6 separate regions of the Homo sapiens genome follow, and regions 1, 2, 3, 4 and 5 are each linked to region 6. Evidence: promoter capture Hi-C in 16 types of primary human blood cells and fetal thymus (Javierre and others, 2016). All regions are on one chromosome and are shown on one strand. Each heading gives the region's core, a stretch centred on a gene start or on the middle of the fragment in contact. The rest is flanking DNA. Distances are from core to core; before and after follow the strand shown. Region 1 overlaps LOC101928957 (a long non-coding RNA gene). Region 2 overlaps CATSPERB (catsper channel auxiliary subunit beta). Region 3 overlaps LOC101928957 (a long non-coding RNA gene). Region 4 overlaps PPP4R3A (protein phosphatase 4 regulatory subunit 3A). Region 5 overlaps CCDC88C-DT (CCDC88C divergent transcript). Region 6 holds the start of TC2N (tandem C2 domains, nuclear).

Region 1 (3,133 bases), core at 78-2,577, 320 kb after region 6:
CTTCCTACATATTGTTAGACTCAATGATAAAAATTGTAGTATAAGAAAATAACAATCATTTTTTAACTGGAGACCTACAGGATGTGAAATTATTCTTGTTGGTATAAAAATGAAAATATGTTTTATTATGGAAAACCCTTTAAACACAGACTAACCTATGAGCCATCATATCCACAGATAAATTGAAATATGATAATCTTATAAAGAATCCCATATACTGTATATGTGAATTAAACTCCTTTTTAGAAGTTGCAACATTTCCATAGAGTCTCTCTGGGGAGTTGTTTGTTTTTTGTTCTTTGTTTTTCTTTTTTCTTTTCCTTAAGTAAAATATTCTCAAGTTAACAGTTAAATCTTCAGTTAAATATGAAAAATTTCACACATATTGGTCTCCTTGGGCTGCCATAACTAAATACCATACACTGGGTAGCTTAAACAATCAACATTTATTGCTAACAGTTCTGGAGGCAGGGAAGTCCAAATCAAGATGCCAGCTGATTTGGTTTCTGGTGAGTTCTCTCTTCCTGGCTTGCAGATGGCAGCCTTCCTGCTGTGTCACATATTGAAACAGTTACTGAATATAAATTCTTATCATTCATAGACAGGCTACTAAAAGGATGACAACTTTTTAAAAATTTTTTTGTAGAGACAAAGTCTCCCTATGTTGCCCAGGCTGGTCTTGAACTCTTGAGCTCAAGAGATCCTCCTGCTGTGGCCTCCCAAAGTGCTGAGATTACAGGGGTGAGCCACTGTGCCTGGACAGGATGACAACGGAAAATACTTGTTCACTGTACGTTTATTGAGTTTCTCATTTAAATCAATCAATGGATCAATATCAACATGTCATTTAGCAGTCTAAATTTTATGGCAATATTATGTAAGCATTAATCCATTGATTGATTTAAATGAGAAACTCAATAAACATACAGTGAACAAGTGTTTTGATTATATTAAACCCATTAGAATCTTGGTGCACCCCCGCTATCCCTACAACTTAAGTTAATAGAACATCTGGGAATGAAATGCAAGGTTTTAATTTTACTACAACTGCTTTTCATGTTTAAAACAATTGTTGATACAAAGCATTCAGGTGATGACATCCATGTAACCAAGGTGAGTGAAGCTGAACCCTACTAGGAAGAAATAAGATTCAAGTAAATAATGTGTATTAGTTATGTAGGCTGGGTGTGATGGCTCATGCCTGTAATCACACTTTGGGAGGCTGAGGCAAGATGATCTGTTGAGGACAAAAGTTCAAGACCAGCCTGGGCAACATAGTGAGACCCCATCTCTACATAAAATATTTTTAAATATTAGCCAGGCATGATGACACACACCTGCCGTCCTAGCTACCCAGGAGACTAAGGCAGGAGAATTGCCTGAGCCCAGAAATTCAAGACTGCGATGAGCTATGATTGAGCCACTGCACTCCAGCCTAAGCAACAGAGTGAGACCTTGTCTCTAAACAAACAAAAAAAAAAGAAAGAAAGAAAAGAAAAAGAAGAAAACCTAAGAAATATAAATAAAAAGTGAAATAGTGAAGCTAAAGAAAAACAAATATATTGAATTCTATGTCAATTAAAAAAATGTCTATTAAGAATGAGAGAAAAATGGAAATATTTTTAGACAAATAAAAGCTAAGAGAGTTTGCCAGGATCAAAATCCACTATAGGAAATTATAAAAGAAGCATTTCTGGCAAAAGGAAAATGATCCCATATGAAGGGTCCGAGTTGGGAGAAAAAAAATAAAGGTAAAATAGGTAACAATAAGTGGGTAACTCCAAATGTATTAAACAAGAAAAAGAATGTCCTGTAGAGTTCTAAGTAGATATACAGTACTAAGCAAATATTAGCAATAGGATAGTTGGTTTGACCATAATGATATCAGATCAAATTGACTTTAGGGCAAAAACCAATACCAGAGATAATGATAGTCACTTTATAATAATAAAAGGTCAATTAACCAGGAAGATACAACCATTTAAAATTTGTACTGTAGGCCGGGCACAGTGGCTCACACTTGCAATCCCAGCACTTTTGGAGACCAAGGTAGGAGGGTCCCTTGAGCCCAGGAGTTCAAGACCAGCCTGGGCAACATAGAGAGACCTCGACTCTATACAAATAATTAATTAATTAATTAAATTTGTACTGTAGTCCCAGCTACCTGGAAGGCTGAGAAAGGAGGATCGCTTGAGCCCAGGAGTTCAAAATCAGCCTGGGCAACATAGCAAGACCCTGCCTCTAATGTTTAAAAAATAAATGCACCCAGGCACGGTGGCGCATGCCTGTAATCTCAGCACTTTGGGAGGCCGAGGTAGGTGGATCACTTGAGGTCGGGAGTTCCAGACCAGCCTGGACAACATGGTGAAGCCCCATCTCTACTAAAAACACAAGTTAGCTGGGCGTGGTGGCGCATGCCTGTAATCCCAGCTACTCAGGAGGCTGAGGCACGAGAATCACTTAAACTCAGGAGGTGGAGGTTGCAGTGAGCTGAGATTATGGCACTGCCCTCCAGCCTGGGCAACACAGCAAGACCCTGTCTCAAAAAATAAATAAAAATATATACGTGTGTGTGTGTGTATATATATATATATAATCAGTTTTGAGACATACTTTGTCAGAGATATCTGCTATTGCCTGCATATTATCTTCTGGATTATAACCTGGCACTTTTATCATAATTATGAAGGTGGCTAGGTTTCCAGTAAATATCAGCATTTTATATGGACAAAAGCAGTTAATAAAAATCAGTTCATTTACTATAAGCCAAATGTGCTTGTTCTTAATCTCACCCTTTCCCAAAGTTTTTGAAGCTTTGATGTGTTGGTTTTTGGTCTGTCCTTAATATAAAATGTACTTACAGACACTTCTGCAGTTAACCCTGAAATTACAAATTGATGACACTTCAAGGCAAAGCAGGAGCATTATCTGTTCCTTCAGTGTCCCCTCACTGAATTCTGACTTCTGCTGCTCCATCATACCATCTGGCTGAACGCTGACATTTCATAGTTTACCACTGTAAAGACACCGACCTATGTGAGTTTAAAAGTGATCTGCACAATCTGTGAAATTTTATATACAACAAATTGGTTTTTAAAAATACAAAAATAACATCGGTCTTTTTTTTTTTTTT
Region 2 (3,058 bases), core at 300-2,799, 290 kb after region 6:
CCCGAGTAGCGGGGACTACAGGCACCCGCCACCATGCCTGGCTAAATTTTTTGTATTTTAGGTAGAGATGGGGTTTCACCATGTTAGCCAGGATGGTCTCAATCTCCTGACCTCGTGATCTGCCCGCCTTGGCCTCCCAAAGTGCTGGGATTACAGGCATGAGCCACCGTGCCCAGCCACAAGTGAAATTTTTACATCATCTGGTGGAGTGACTGAAATTTCATTAGGCAGAAATGAACAAGGAAGGCATTCTGGATGGAGAGACCAGGTACAGATATGGGAAAGTGATGCAGGACTTTTCTTGGCCACTTTGCCAACCGGGGACCTCCACAGCTGGTGACATCCTCCACCTGGGCCTTGCTCAGCCCTGAGCCTGCCACTGGAGGCACCCTGCCCACTTGTCCCAACTATGTTGTAGTGTGTACCCATGTTCCTGTCCTGCATCCAAGTATAATGAGGAAACACTAACAATTGAAGAGTGAGGAGGGCAAAGAATAATTTTACTGAGTGATGGAACAGCTCTCAGCAGACAGGGGACGTAGGGTGTGGTCCCTCACCCCTGCAGTCAGGTGGTTTCTTTGCCAGTGTGGCTGAGTGGGGCCTTTATGCACTCAGAATAGGGGAGAGTGTGCTGACTGGCTTATGAGTAAGCAAAGAAAGGCTAAAGCAAAGGTACCACTCAAAGGTGGGCACAGCAGTGTAGAAAACCAATTAGGAAGGGTAGGTATATGTAAAACAGTTGAAGGGTGGGATCAGTCAGAGGAAAGCACGCCAAACAGGAAGACAGGTTCTGAATTCGGTATGTGGATTTACCTGGGACTGCCTTCAGCTTGAAGGTCAGGTTTCACCGGCGACCCACCCCTATCTGCCTAGGCATTTGACTGCCTCCTGTCACAATCAAAAGCATAAAGTTTGCTTTTTGAATAGCTCAAATCCATTTGGCTGGAATATAAGGTTATTTAGAAGAAAGCCAGGTAGGTTAGGGTCCAATTGTGGAAGGCTTTGAATGTCAGAGTGAAAGCTTTAGAACACTCCTGTCAACATTCCTGTCAACATTCCTGTCAACAATGAAAAGCTATTAAACATTTTTGGAAAAAGGTGTTTATACACAGACTGGTGTTTTATACAAAGATAAATCTGGCAATGTTAGGATGTCAACACGGACTGGTGGGCTGGGAAGGAGGCTACTAGAGTAGCCTATTTATGAAAAGTGGCACAATAATCACAGTAGCAGTACTGAAAGAATGGAAAGAATGAATGTGAGGGGAATTTTAGAGAATGTATAGCATGGAGGGACTGTTTCTAAGAAATCAGCTACCTCCTTGGGTCACTGGGAGGATGGTGGTACCTTTAACTTGAGCTAGACCTTAAAGCAGCCTGTCATCCTTTTTCTTGTCCTTTGCACTTTCCCACATTCCCTACTGTCCTAGTTCCATTCATCAGCACGTTCTTCTCCCACAAAAGACGATCTGGCTTCCTGCTTCACAAAGGAAACATAAGCCTGGGCTTGAACCCCCTACTCTCTTTATGCCCCACTTCTATATTTAACATACAATGACCCCACCCTTGCCTCACATCTCAGAGAAAAAGACATCACTGTCCCTCTCTGTCAATAATCCTATCTGTCCTCCAGAAATTTACTTGCTTCTGTTAATTAGCTATTCATGCAGAGGAAACATTTTGAATACATAAAAAGTTACCTATACTGGCAGCACCTACAAAGAGGATTTTCTAAAGAGGTGGTAACTTGAAAGAGCACAGACATATGCCTCTACCTGGAATGTTCCTTTATCTCCTTCTCTTCTGTGAACCTACTTATTCGTCATGATCCAGCTCAGAAAGCGCATTCCCTGACTGCCCTAGGCAGGTAGGCATTCCCTCCTCCACATTCCCAGAGCTCTTTGCCCATTCCTCTGAGACTGAACAGAGAATGTTCTGCTGTATAAGCATTTTATCTGCCTCCTTCCACCATTAAAGACAGGGTAAAGGCATAGGATAATACATGGACTTCTTAGCCCCTATTTATTGTAGGCAAATTGTTACTTGTTCAACTGTCAAGAGACTGTTTCCAAGCTTTGTGGATGCTGAATGTCTTTGTAACTCTGGGCAGCGTTTTGCTCTCCGATTAATTGTGGGGAACATTAAATTTTCAGTGTTTTGCATTGCTAAATTCAGAAAGCTTAAAGACTTTGCTTTTTCTGTTGCAGATTTATGTTGATGAGGCACCATTGCCATTCCCAGGACACACGCTTATTGCCGTGGCAACAGCGGTAGTGCTAGGGGGATTAATTTTTATAGCATTTATGTTTCAACTGCAAGGCATCCATCCGTGGAGGACATTCCAAAGATGGATTAGAAGAAACCAAGAGAAGTTTTCAAGTATCTCTCTCAGTGAGCTGATTCATAGATCAAAGTCTGAAGAGTGAACACATGGTGATCATAATTTCTCTTTATTTTCTAGTTTTATCAGCCAATTCCTAGAACAATATATTTAAATGTTAAATATGCAAGCTACATAAAATCCTAAAGAATTGTCATTATAATTCAAATTGCTACTTGTCAATATATTCACCATTTCCTTTTCTTATTTTGAATACATAGAAAATGTCTTATGCCAGGGCTTATGTTGAAGATCTTCCTTGAGGTTTTTAGAAAAGTATAAAATGATAACCAACTCGACATGGAACAGGTGTTCTGTGTTGTTCAGCTCTTAGTGCCTGGAGCCCATTCTGTGGGGTCAGAACCCCTGAGCTCTGCTCCTTCCAGATAGAGTTTGAGTAGAGTGCAGTTATGCCAGGGTGAGATAGGAGTGAAGACAGCGGATCAGCAGCAGTGTTTTCAGAGCCTTGTGGGAATGAAAGAGGAAGCCATTCAAGTTTCTTTGGGCAACTTCAAAACCAGATTGTAGTACCTAAAGAGAGAAATGTGACCCCATCATTAGGGTGTTAGAAGAACGCGGTGTCTGAGCAGGGTATTGGTTTATAAACCTACATGCAGCATGGAGAATTCCAAAAGCTATATCTCTGTGTGCTCTCAAAGTAAATGTCCCCAGATAGTC
Region 3 (3,148 bases), core at 267-2,766, 330 kb after region 6:
ATATGCTTTGAATACTGTTAAGTAAATATTAAAAAGTGAAGATTGAGTACTTACTTATGCTGTCAATAAACTTGAAAGCAAGATTTCTTACACTAATGCCCATTGAATAACCAAGCAACCAAATAAACATTTAGTAAATAACTTTATGGGTAATTCCAGATGTCTATAAGCTTTTAAAAATCATTCATCAACCTGAACTAGTCCTAGCTTTCTGTTTTTAAGTTTCTCATTTTGCTATCGTTTTCATTAAATGTATCCCTGCACATACTTCAGAAAGTCAAATAATCCTAAATTATTATAAAATCTAACAGTTCCCTGTACATATCCCTCTTCCATTTCCCTTTCTTCAGAGGCAACCACATAAAATTGTTTTAACTGTTTATTTGGACATTTGCCTCGGAATCTCTAAATAACCTGCTTACACTGCTATTTTTTTTTTTTTTTTTTTTTTTTTTTGAGACAGGGTCTCACTCTCTTGCCCAGGCTGGAGTGAAGTGGTGCGATCTTGGCTCACTGCAGCCTCAATCTCCTGGGCTTCCCAAGTAGCTAGGACTACAGGCACATGCCACCATGCCTGGCTAATTTTTTTTTTTTTTTTTTTTTTTTAGAGCCGGGTCTTGCCACATTACCTAGGCTGGTCTCAAACTCCTGGGCTCAATTGATCTACCCACCGCAGCTTCACAAAGTGCTGGGATTACAGGCATGAGCCATGGTGCCTGGACTTATACTGCCATTTTTTTTTAAGTTATAAGTAAATTGTTCTATCATAAAGACACAGGTATGTGTATGTTCATTGCAGCACTATTCACAATAGCAAAGACATGGAATCGACCTAAATATCCATCAATGGTACACTGGATAAAGAAAATGTGGTACATATACACTATGGAATACTATGCAGCCATAAAAATGAATGAGATCATGTCTTTTGCAGCGACATGGATGGAGCTGGAGGCCATTATCCTTAGCAAACTAAAGCAGGAACAGAAAACCAAATACCTCATGATCTCACTTATAAGTGGGAGCCAAAGGATGAGAACACGTGAACGCCTAGAGGGGAAAAACGGCCTGTCAGAGGATGGAGGATGGGAAGAGGGAGGGGATCAGGAAAGATAACTAATGGGTGCCAGGCTTAATACCTGGGTGATGAAACAATCTGTACAATAAACCCCCAGCTTTACCTGTGTAACAAATCTGCACATGTCCCCTGAACTTAAAGTTTAAAAAAAAAAAGTATAATCTATTAACATTCCACTATGAAAGACGAGGATTTAGGTCTTTTCTAAGCCCTACTATCACCGCCATACATAAACACTCACTCTTCTCATCCTCCCACATGAAAGTTTTATGAAGAGTTTAGTCAGTGGGAGGCTTGAGGTGGGAGGATCTCATGCAATAGTTTGAGCCAAGAGTTCAAGACTATAGTGAGCTATGATCATGCCACTGTACTCCAGCCTGGGTGACAGAGCAAGACTTGGTCTCTAAAAATTAAAATAAAGTAAAATAAAATAGCTTAAGCCAGGCGTGGTGGCTTATCCCTGTAATCCCAGCACTTTGGGAGGCTGAGGCGGGCAGATCACTTGAGCCCAGGAGTTCGAGATCAGCCTGGGCAACATAGTGAAACCCTGTCTCTACTAAAAACGCAAAAACAATTAGCCGGGCGTGGTGGCACTTGCCTGTAATACCAGCTACTCAGGAGACTGAGGCAAGAGAATTGTTTGAACCCGGGAGGTGGAGGTTGCAGTGAGTCGAGATCACGCCACTGCACTCCAGCCTGGGTGACAGAGTGAGATTCCATCTCAAAAAATAGAATAGTTGAGTCAGATTCACTGTTGGTGTTATTATGGAAATGTTAGCCAAATTCACGGTACAGCCACATTTCTTTTTCTTCCCTGATAACATTTTCTTGTTCTTGGTGTTAATACATGTCCTTGTTTTCACTTAGTTCTCTATGCACTGTTCACTATTTTGTCTCCCTCTAATGGATCTTCTGTTTCCCGGCTCTCATATATTCTACTTTATTAATATAATACCTTATTTTAGTGGAACACGTCCTCCAGTAACTTTCAAAGAAAAAATAGATGGGTGGCCGGTGTTTTGAGATTGTTCGTGTATGCAAATGTCTTTATTTACTTACCACTGGATTCATAGTTTGGCTGCGTATATAATTCTCTACTTGAAACCACTTCTCCTCAAAATTTCAAAAGCATTGCTCCTTTGTCCCTTAGCTTGCAGTATTACCATTGAGAAGCCCAGTGCCATTATTTTGTCTGATTCTTCTGTAAGGAAAGATTTAAATATCTTTCCATTGTCCCTAGTGTTATGACATTTCATACTGGTGGGCTTCGTGTTTTGTTTCATTGTTTGTTTTTTTTTTTTGGAGATGGAGTCTCACTCCAGTCAGTCATGCAGGCTGGAGTGCAGTGGCGCGATCTTGGCTCAGTGCAACCTCTGCCTCCTGAGTTCAAGTGATTCTCCTGCCTCAGCCTCCAGAGGAGCTGGGACTACAGGCATATGCCACTGTGCCCGCTAATTTTTTTCTGTTTTTGGTAGAGACGAGGTTTCACCATGTTGGCCAGGCTGGTCTCAAACTCCTGACCTCAAGTGATCCACCCGCCTCGGCCTCCCAAAGTGCTGGGATTACAAGCATGAGCCACCACATCTGGCCTGGTGGGCTTTGTTTTTGTTCTATATCCATGTCATGGGCTCTGGACACTGTGGTGGACCTTTCTGTGTACAAGTTCACATCCCTCAATTCTGAGAAATCTTTTTGAATCATGTGATTAATAATTGTCTTCCTTCCATTGTCTCTGTTCTCCCTGTAACTCCTAATATTCTGGCTTTGTTCTACCTGTAAGCTTCTCTGATTTTCTTATCACTTTCCTCCTATATACATCCTCTTGCTCTACTTTCAGGAGCTATCCTCAGCTTCTGTTTCGTACCATCTGTTGAATTTTTCATTTTTGTTACTATACTTCTAATTTCCAAGACCTCTCTTTTGTTCTCTGAATGTTCCTTTCTTTATAAAACCCTCCATTTGGTTTCATGGGTGCCACATCTTCTGTCTCAGAGAACATTGATAGGTTTGTAGCAGTTTTCTTTTCTAAGGATAGTCTCCATTTCCTCTAGGTTGCCGTTTCCTGCTTAT
Region 4 (2,865 bases), core at 224-2,723, 410 kb after region 6:
CATTTTTTCATTACTATTCTTTTCTGTAGGAAGATATAAAATCATTAACTGCTCATGTAATTGAAAATTACTGGAAAGCACTGGAAGATGTAGATTATGTACAGACATTTAAAGGATTAAAACTGAGATTTGAACAACAAAGAGAAAGGCAAGATAATCCCAAACTTGACAGGTAAATTACCATATATTTAAACCTATTCGTTCAGCATCAAGTCGTATGGTAGTGGCTTTATTGTTTATTTGATATTATTTGGCTTGACAAGGAACAGGGAAATCAGCAGATAGCAAATAGAAATTGTAGCTTCCTGTAAGGGTCAACATAAATGTTTCCCTGAAGATTAGGCTGGTTATTAGTATAATACCTCAGGCATGTATCAGGCTAGATAAGGGAAAAAAAAAAAAAAAGACCAAACAGTGGAAGTGAGGCTTCATGTGTTCCAAATAAAATCAGAGGATTATATTACTTGCTTTGAATTTACAAGTTACTAAGGTTACAAATTATTATTTAAAATTTTGTACATTAATCTAAATACCTGGATTTACATTGATACTTTAATATTTGTAAATTTCATGTTAATTCCCTATGTTAACAAGTTTAATAAGTCATCTGTAACAGTACAATTAAGTCCATATATGATTGTATTTACTCTTTCTTCCCTACTCATAGTATGCGTTCCATTTTGAGGAATCACAGATATCGAAGAGATGCCAGAACACTAGAAGATGAAGAAGAGATGTGGTTTAACACAGATGAAGATGACATGGAAGATGGAGAAGCTGTAGTGTCTCCATCTGACAAAACTAAAAATGATGATGATATTATGGATCCAATAAGTAAATTCATGGAAAGGAAGAAATGTATGTTGGAAAAAAATGGGCAAGAGAAAATTAAGGCTTTCTTACTCTAGATTTATTCTTATTTCTTGACAAAATGATTATTTGCTTGGAAGGTGTGATGGCATACGGTTTAAAGACTCTATTGCTTTATGGGATGTGACTGAATAGCAGTGTTGTGTAGGCATAAACTTAAGTTTTCTTAATTTGAGTTGAATAAGGAATATACTATTTCAGGAAGGGTAGGGATACTAAATATGATTCTGAAGGTTTCAATTCTTCTCTGGGGTAAGATCCAATGAATGGAATTGTGGTTAGTATTTTGGTAAGCTTCTTTTATAAATTGAACTTCAATGTTTCTACCCAGCGTAGTAAGCTAGTTAAATGTGTTTTAGTGTTACCTCATTTGGGGAAATTTAAAAAAGAAGTATGGGGGACGACTATTGACAGTATTCTCATTTTTAGTAAAAGAAAGTGAGGAAAAGGAAGTGCTTCTGAAAACAAACCTTTCTGGACGGCAGAGCCCAAGTTTCAAGCTTTCCCTGTCCAGTGGAACGAAGACTAACCTCACCAGCCAGTCATCTACAACAAATCTGCCTGGTTCTCCGGGATCACCTGGATCCCCAGGATCTCCAGGCTCTCCTGGATCCGTACCTAAAAATACATCTCAGACGGCAGCTATTACTACAAAGGTACATTCTTGACTCCCATTTTGCCCCCTTTTTTCCCAATTGAAGCTTTCTCAACAATAATTTTGACTAAGATTCCCTTTGGTTACTGCCACCTAGAACTGATTTAACATCCCTGAACTAGAGGATGAGTCCCCCCCACCGCTTGAACTTATATAAAGGTTGAGAAATTTCTGAAAGTTTTTTTTATGACCAATGCAAGTCTGCATATAGTGTGAATTCTCACTTGGGTATTTTGGATTTTAGAACTGAAACTTCAAATTTGTATGTCAAAACATTTACAGAAATGTTCAAGGTTTTCAGTTATTCTTGAATAAATGTTCCTAACTAATACCCAGATAAAGCCTTTGTGGGGAAATGATAATCTAAATATCTGGGTACTTCTAACTTTACTTTGCCAGTTAAGGTTTGTTAAGAAAATTAAACATCTACTATCACTAACATTTCATATAAGAAATGAACAAGGGCTGGGCACGGTGGCTCACGCCTGTAATCCCAGCACTTTGGGAGGCTGAGGCGGGCAGGACACGAGGTCAGGAGATCGAGACCGTCCTGGCTAACGTGGTGAAACCCCGTTTCTACTAAAAATACAAAAATTAGCCAGGCGTGGTGGCGGGCGCCTGTAGTCCCAGCTACTCTGGAGGCTGAGGCAGGAGAATGGCATGAACCTGGGAGGCGGAGCTTGCAGTGAGCTGAGATCGCTACTGCAACAGCGAGACTCCATCTCAAAAAAAAAAAAAAAAAAAGGAACAAAATCTTAAGAAAAAATGTAGAAAACATGCAATCTCAGAATAAAACCAGTTTTGGGGGCTCCTTATGCCAACCACCCTTTTCTTTTGAGACATAATATATTGATTATTGGGCTAGCAGACTAGCAGTTAAAAGACTGGCATTTGGGAATCACTGATCTAAATCAGACACGTAATGCCCATTCAGTCTTTTTTTTTTCTGGCGTGAGCTGGAGACTCCTGACGGCTAAGAAGTGAATCTGAGACACGCTGAAATGAAGAGGCAGGCTTGAGAGCAGAGCAGTGTGAATTTTTCCCTTAGCATCGAAATAAAGCAAGCAGCAGCCAGGCGCGGTGGCTTACGCCCGTAATCCCAGTGCTTTGGGAGGTCCAGGGGGGTGGGTCACGAGGTCAGGAGATCCGAGACCATCCTGGCTAATACGGTGAAACCCCGTCTCTACTAAAAATACAAAAACATTAGCCGCGTGTGGTGGCGGGCGCCTGTAGTCTCAACTACTCAGGAGGCTGAGGCAGGCGAATGGTGTGATCCCGGGAGGTGGAGCTTGCAGGGAGCTGAGATGGCGCCACTGCACTCCAGCCTGGGCGACAGAGTG
Region 5 (3,205 bases), core at 303-2,802, 450 kb after region 6:
TTTGACAATAATATTAATTCCCAATTTTTTTTTCTTTTTTTTTTTTAGATGGAGTCTTGCTCTGTCACCCAGGCTGGAGTGCAGTGGCGCAATCTCAGCTCACTACAACCTCCGCCCCCAGGGTTCAAGCGATTCTCCTGCCTCAGCCTCCTGAGTAGATGGGATTACAGGTGCACGCCACCACGCCTGGCTAATTTTTGTATTTTTAGTAGAAATGAGGTTTCATCATGTTGGTCAGGCTGGTCTCGAACTCCTGACTTGTGGTCTGCCCACCTTGACCTCTCAAAGTGCTGGGATTATAGGCGTGAGCCACCTCGCCCAGCCTAATTTCCAATATTTTAAGAATGTTCCAGCCCAGCATGGCGGCTCATGCCTGTAATCCCAGCATTTTGGGAGGCCGAGGCAGGAGGATCACTTCAGCTCAGGAGTTTGAGACCAGCCTGGGCAACATAGCAACCTTGTCTCTACTAAGATTTAAAAAATTTAAAAAAAAAATTATCCGGGCATGGTGGGGCTCACCTGTAGTCCCAGCTACTAAGAAGCCTGAGGCAGGAGGATCACGTGAGCCCAGGAGACTGAGGCTGCAGTGAGCTATGATTGCTCAGCCATTACACTTCTAGCCTGGGCAACAGAGCGAGACTCTGTCTCAAAAATAAATAAATAAATAAATAAATAAAGTAAATAAAAGAACGTTCCAAAATGTCAGATCTGTGACAGAATATAAAACTATCATAGAATATAGTATTTTGTGGCCAGCCATAGTGGCTCACACCTGTAATCTCAGCACTTTGTGAGGCCGAGGCGGGCAGATCACCTGAGGTCAGGAGTTTGAGAACCGCCTGGCCAACATGGCGAAACCTTGTCTCTACTAAAAATACAAAAATTAGCTCGGCATGGTAGTGAGCTGAGATAGCTTGACCCCTGGGAGACAGAGGTTGCAGTGAGCCAAGATTGCGCCACTGCACTCCAGCCTGGGTGACAGAGCAAGACTCAGTCTCGAAAAAAAAAAAAAATAGCCATTCCCTCTCCCCACCCCAAGTTGTAGTAACAATTTAAGCTCCTGCTCCTATCAGGTGAAGTAGAAATGCCATTAGCTAACACTGCTGAGTCAGTATTTTCTGAGAGGGTAGAAAATTCCTTTATCAGAAGAACACAAAATACTGCTTCTACCCAGGAAGCAATGTATTAAGCAATAGATACATTTATATCCAGAGATTAACAAGGAAAAACTTAAAAATAAAGAGTTAAGGCTCAGATGGATGGAGTGAAAGCCAAGGGTGTTCTGGAAGGATGGAGGAGGGGCATTGGGACTCTCTGTGTAGTGGTCAGTGGAGGGTCTGTGCATTTGCTCCTTGAAGCTTATGCCCCAGCCCGACGGAGACTTCGGGGAAACAATTTTTATTAAAGCAAGGGTAGCAGAATGGGGCAGGAGATGAGGAAGAGACAGTGATTATGTATCTCTATAAAGCTTTATGGCTTCCACAATCTTTTTACATGCATCACCTTGAGCTTTAATATTGTCTTGTCAAGTCACATGGGGAAAATGGTCTTATCTTGATTTTGCAGATTAAGTGACTTCTAGGAGGAAACTTGTCCAGGCCAAACTTGTCCCGTCCTTTGAAGCCTTCCAAGCTTGCTACACCTGGGGCACCATCCAGTTTGCCTGCCCCATTGCCTCCTAGGGAACAAGGGAGCTGAGTTAGATCCTTTTAATCCTGGTGGCGTAGTCAAGCCAAGGCATGGTAGCAGATACATCAATGATTATGAACCAACACAGCAGCTAACTGACCCCAAAGCAAACATTCCTGACATGGCTGTGGCCCAGGGCCTTGTCAATGTCCCCAGGGGAAAATTCCCTCACCAGGATGGGAAAAGTCTCACAACTGTCAGAAGGCATTTGTCCACTGTATTTCTTAGTGTGAAAGAATAAGCTTACTCAATAAATTTTTTTTTTTGAGACAGAGTCTTGCTCTGTCACCCAGGCTGGAGTGCAATGGTGCAATAGCAGCTCACTGCAACCTTCCCCTCCCGGGTTCGAGTGATTCTCAGCCTCCAGAGTAGCTGGGATCACAGGTGTGCACCACCACACCCAGCTAATTTTTCTATTTTTTTTGGCCAGGCTGGTCTTGAACTCTTGGGCTGAAGTGATCCACCTACTTAGGCCTCCCAAAGTGCTGGGATTACAGGTGTGAGGCACTGCACCCGGCCTCAATAAATAACTTTAAAGATTCCTCATCCTTGTCTTTCCAAAAAAATTGGAAAAACAACTTTGGCCGCATCTGCATCCCTTACTTTTCAGAAGAGAGGCTTCCGAGCGAAGAGCGGTGTGTGTACACATCATACCTATTTTTGAACTAACTTACATTATGAGCAATTAAGGAACTTTTTTAAATAAAAGATTTTTAGCCGGGCGCGGTGGCTCACGCCTGTAATCCCAGCACTTTGGGAGGCCGAGGCAGGCGGATCACGAGGTCAGGAGATAGAGACCATCCTGGCTAACACGGTGAAACCCCGTCTCTAGTAAAAAATACAAAAAATTAGCCGGGCGTGGTGGTGGGCGCCTGCAGTCCCAACTACTCTGGAGGCTGAGGCAGGAGAATGGCGCGAACCCGGGAGGCGGAGTTGCAGTGAGCAGAGAGCACGCCACTGCACTCCAGCCTGGGCAACAGAGTGAGACTCTGTTGTCTCAAAAAAAAAAAAAAAAAAAAAAAAGAGAAAAGAAAAAAAGATTTTTATTTCAGATAAAATTAATATTTCCATAATTAGGATACACACATAATTAGCAAACACACATTCTTGAGTCCATTATTTAAGGTTTATTCTATAAACGACTTCCATGAGTATTAGAGATCCTGAATGTCATCTGAATATTTGTCTACACACTTGTGGGCAGCTTCTGTAGACTTTTCTTTGTAGAAATTCCAGTTTTTCTGAATTCTTCCTTTTCCTTCAGGTTTTCCACTTTGCATTATTCATAAAAGGCTGGGTCATTATAGTGAGCTGTTAAGACATTCTTTCAATGCAGAATTTTCTTTCCAGCATTTTACTACCATAAGGATTCCAGAGTTCTTGCAACATTTGGTAAAATCTTGAACTTGTCAGAAGACCTCTCTCTGGCCTTTTCTCTCATTATTTTAGGGATCAAAACATCTTTTTCGACACGTCTGAGCTGCTGCTCCAAAAACCTGTAGTGTCTTCCCATTGT
Region 6 (2,904 bases), core at 20-2,519:
TTAGAACCCTGTGCAGGGGCCAAGAGAGTCAACATTGCAAGTCACAGGAGAACAGGTTGGGATGGCTGTCTTTATGTGCCATCCCAGGAATCAACCCAAGGCTTCAGGAAAAAAGTGCACTCCCTGATAGCTGAGGTGGAGTCTACAGATCCATCTGAGGGTGCTCCCATCCTACCTGTTGGTGAGGTATTCATTAAGGACCCCCACAGTGCCTATCAGGAGTTGTGTCCTGGACCCCTAGTCTTAGTAGGCATTCCACAGATCCTTGTGATATGGACAGGAGACAGGGAAATACTGGGTAGAAGAGGGTGGTTCCCTGGCAAAGGCCCCACCCTCAAGCCTGGGTACCCATGGCCCTAAATGAGGACAGCCATTCCTGTTTTCATCCCTAAAAAGTTGCCTTTTGGCCTGCCATGTCCCCTATCCTGTACCCATATAAACCCTGAACCCCAGGCTCCAGGCTCCAGAAGCAGACGGGGAGACAAGAAGATGAGCAGACATGAATGGCAGAAAAGCACGGCAAAGAAGGAGAGAAGAGAAGGAACATTGGGAGGAATTCGACTGGAGACGATCTGAAAACTGGCCACTGGATGGCCAAACTCCAGGGGAAGATCATCTTCCCACTCCATCCCCTGTCCAGCTCCCCATCCATCCTACTTAGAGCCACCTCCACCACTCAATAAAACCCCTGCATTCATCCTGCAAATCCATGTGTGACCTGATCCCTCCGGGATGCTGGACAAGAGCTCGGGATACAGGAAACTGTCACACTGGCCCTCTGCCCTGGCAAAAAGGGAGAGGGTCCACTAAGCTGGTTAACGCTTAAGCTGTCCACGGATGGCAAGGCTGAAAGACTGCACTGTTTCAGTGCCTACTCGGGCTTTGGAAGTCACAGACACCGACCCCGGGATGCTGTCATGGGGCTGGGGCCCAAAAGTGCTCACCCTGGTTCCTGCACCTGCCTGTCTGCGTGCTCCCCTTCCCATAAGGGGTTTTAGCTTGGGGTGGCTGAAGAGAGAGCCACACCCCTGTTGCACATCCTGTGAGGGGGCCAGGGAATTCTCCTGTTCCACTTAGTAGTATCTTAGGCCTTCAGTGGAAGGAAACAGCATGTTCCACGCCCTGTAGCATCCAAGAAGCTGCAAGTCCTCCCTCCTCACCCCAAGAGCATTTCTCACACCCACACCACACACCTCACTTTGCTGTTGGCTGTGGTTATTTTTTTCTCTAACTAAGCACATCTAAACCATGCCTAGTTGTGGTTCTTCAGTCAGGGTCAAGTGGTGTTAGCAATCACATCAGCACCAAATGGCTCAGGATGCTCTGGTTTCAAAGCTTATAAAACAGAGGGTGATTCCCTTGGGACTCACTCAGCTCGGCTCCGAAAAGCAAAGGCCAGAAGGCAGCAGTGAGCCTGGGTCCCTGCTGTGTAGGGAGACTCAGGGGCTGGGAAGAAGGATGGAATCAGAAATGCTGAAGGTTTACGTGAGCTTTGCACCGAGCGCCTCCGAACCACTGCCTCTGGGCTCAACAGAACACAGGGGTAAGTCTCCATGAACTTCTCAAAAAGAAAACTGGGAAGCTTTCTGTCTTGATGATTTGAGGACCCACTGGTTTCAGAGGTGCCACATTTGGAACCAGATCCGAGTCTTTAAGGTTTGTGTTTTATTTGTTCATGTCAAAATGTGGCTTCCTGCTTCTAAGAAAAGAAACTCAGGCTCATAAAAGCAGCCTCCAAGGGCTTCTTGGACCTCAAATTGCGCTTTCAAAATGTGGTCTGATGGGTTCAGTGTAAATGCACCAGAGGCATGTGGGATCCATTTACCTTAAAATACACTTGGGCCTAAAAATTAAGAGAAAAACAGTCCAGGGCAAAGTGTATACTGCAAAGTCAAGCTCCAAACATTTGGGAAACAGTTCTAGAGGCTGCTGGAACCCCAAATGCTACTTGCTTTACCTACCCCTTGGGAATCATCAAATGTTATTTTTTGTACAAGACTGGGGATGAGCCTGCTCTCTGATCCCAGTGCTGTGCTCTGCTGTGCAGTTCTAATGGGGCAGGCTGTTTCCTGGACCCTGAGATCTCCAGGCTCCCTGTGCCTATTCCTTGTCAGCTTTGCCCCATCCAGGAGCTGGGCTGAGCTTGTCAAGTGACCTCTGCTTTGTACCACTCCATCAGGTCCTGAAGAATGAAGGGTACCAAGGTGGAAGGGGCGCAGGATTAAGAGTAGGGACGCCTGCAAAAGCTCTCGTGTTACCACCTCATCTTCCAACTTTCATGTGGGTGAAAACGTTCATCCTAAATAATTGCTTCTAATTCTGAAGTTTTGTGATTCCTTGAAATGTACTTTGGGGATGACAGCCAGCATTTCCATTTCACTGCAATTTCAGAGTTTTGCAGTGGTTTGCCAATCATAACACTTTCTAATTGGCACAAAATCCACCTACCTGTTGCCTCTCAGGCTTGGGTAACATACTTCAGACACTTTCTTAGGTAAGTCTTGGCCCTTGGGGTGTTATTTGCCCAGATGGTAAAAACATTTAAGTAGGTCTGATTATTTCATTTTCAGTGGTTTCAACGCATTTTTGTGGCCTGGGTGGTTACTGTAATGTGCCCAAGTTGTTCATTCTGAGCCAACGGGGTCACCCACAGAGAGAAGACTTGACAAAGGAACTCTCCTCTACTCCCCTCTTGCCAGATGAAATATTGTTTGTAAAAGGTCTTTGTCTTGAGAGGATCACATACTTTGGTTAAGAATCCACTTTGGTTAAGCCGGTTGCTGGATTCAGAGACATGAACAGGATAGACAGTCCACCGATAACTTTATAATAACACCTTTTTAATAACACCTTTAATAACTTTTTAATAACTTTAAAAGTTATTAAAACTTTATAAAAAGTTAA

What was found. Contacts are between HindIII fragments. The CHiCAGO score rates a contact against its expected background, and 5 or more counts as called.
Region 1: a contact is called between a fragment that was not itself captured here and the fragment with the promoter of TC2N in region 6, in 2 of 17 cell types (M1 macrophages and M2 macrophages). The highest score is 7.3, in M1 macrophages.
Region 2: a fragment that was not itself captured here is called in contact with the fragment with the promoter of TC2N in region 6 in 1 of 17 cell types (M1 macrophages); the score reaches 5.3 in M1 macrophages.
Region 3: a fragment that was not itself captured here is called in contact with the fragment with the promoter of TC2N in region 6 in 3 of 17 cell types (M1 macrophages, megakaryocytes and M2 macrophages); the score reaches 8.3 in M1 macrophages.
Region 4: a contact is called between a fragment that was not itself captured here and the fragment with the promoter of TC2N in region 6, in 1 of 17 cell types (naive CD4 T cells). The highest score is 5.7, in naive CD4 T cells.
Region 5: a fragment that was not itself captured here is called in contact with the fragment with the promoter of TC2N in region 6 in 1 of 17 cell types (non-activated CD4 T cells); the score reaches 5.2 in non-activated CD4 T cells.

Annotation. Positions count from the first base shown.
Region 1 is chr14:91,549,667-91,552,799 of GRCh38, reverse strand. The region is part of intron 2 of LOC101928957 (a long non-coding RNA gene); the gene reads left to right. Among named protein-coding and RNA genes, the nearest start is that of PPP4R3A, 41 kb to the right of the region's middle. The HindIII fragment of the contact is 2,976 bases long and covers 1-2,815 here.
Region 2 is chr14:91,580,257-91,583,314 of GRCh38, reverse strand. CATSPERB (catsper channel auxiliary subunit beta) reads left to right here. Exons shown (of 27, transcript NM_024764.4): 27 at 2,208-2,617. The coding sequence ends at 2,426. Among named protein-coding and RNA genes, the nearest start is that of PPP4R3A, 71 kb to the right of the region's middle. The HindIII fragment of the contact is 1,052 bases long and covers 1,024-2,075 here.
Region 3 is chr14:91,532,025-91,535,172 of GRCh38, reverse strand. The region is part of intron 2 of LOC101928957 (a long non-coding RNA gene); the gene reads left to right. Among named protein-coding and RNA genes, the nearest start is that of PPP4R3A, 23 kb to the right of the region's middle. The HindIII fragment of the contact is 2,688 bases long and covers 173-2,860 here.
Region 4 is chr14:91,460,042-91,462,906 of GRCh38, reverse strand. It overlaps PPP4R3A (protein phosphatase 4 regulatory subunit 3A), which reads left to right. Exons shown (of 15, transcript NM_001366432.2): 12 at 30-172; 13 at 668-858; 14 at 1,300-1,526. Among named protein-coding and RNA genes, the nearest start is that of CCDC88C-DT, 43 kb to the right of the region's middle. The HindIII fragment of the contact is 201 bases long and covers 1,373-1,573 here.
Region 5 is chr14:91,419,422-91,422,626 of GRCh38, reverse strand. It overlaps CCDC88C-DT (CCDC88C divergent transcript), which reads right to left. Exons shown (of 3, transcript NR_184261.1): 2 at 1,504-1,678. It also overlaps the pseudogene LOC112268126. Among named protein-coding and RNA genes, the nearest start is that of CCDC88C-DT, 2.8 kb to the right of the region's middle. The HindIII fragment of the contact is 164 bases long and covers 1,471-1,634 here.
Region 6 is chr14:91,865,901-91,868,804 of GRCh38, reverse strand. TC2N (tandem C2 domains, nuclear) reads left to right here and starts at 1,269. Exons shown (of 12, transcript NM_001128596.3): 1 at 1,269-1,543. RefSeq lists an enhancer at 1,054-1,103. The HindIII fragment of the contact is 17,848 bases long and covers 1-1,337 here.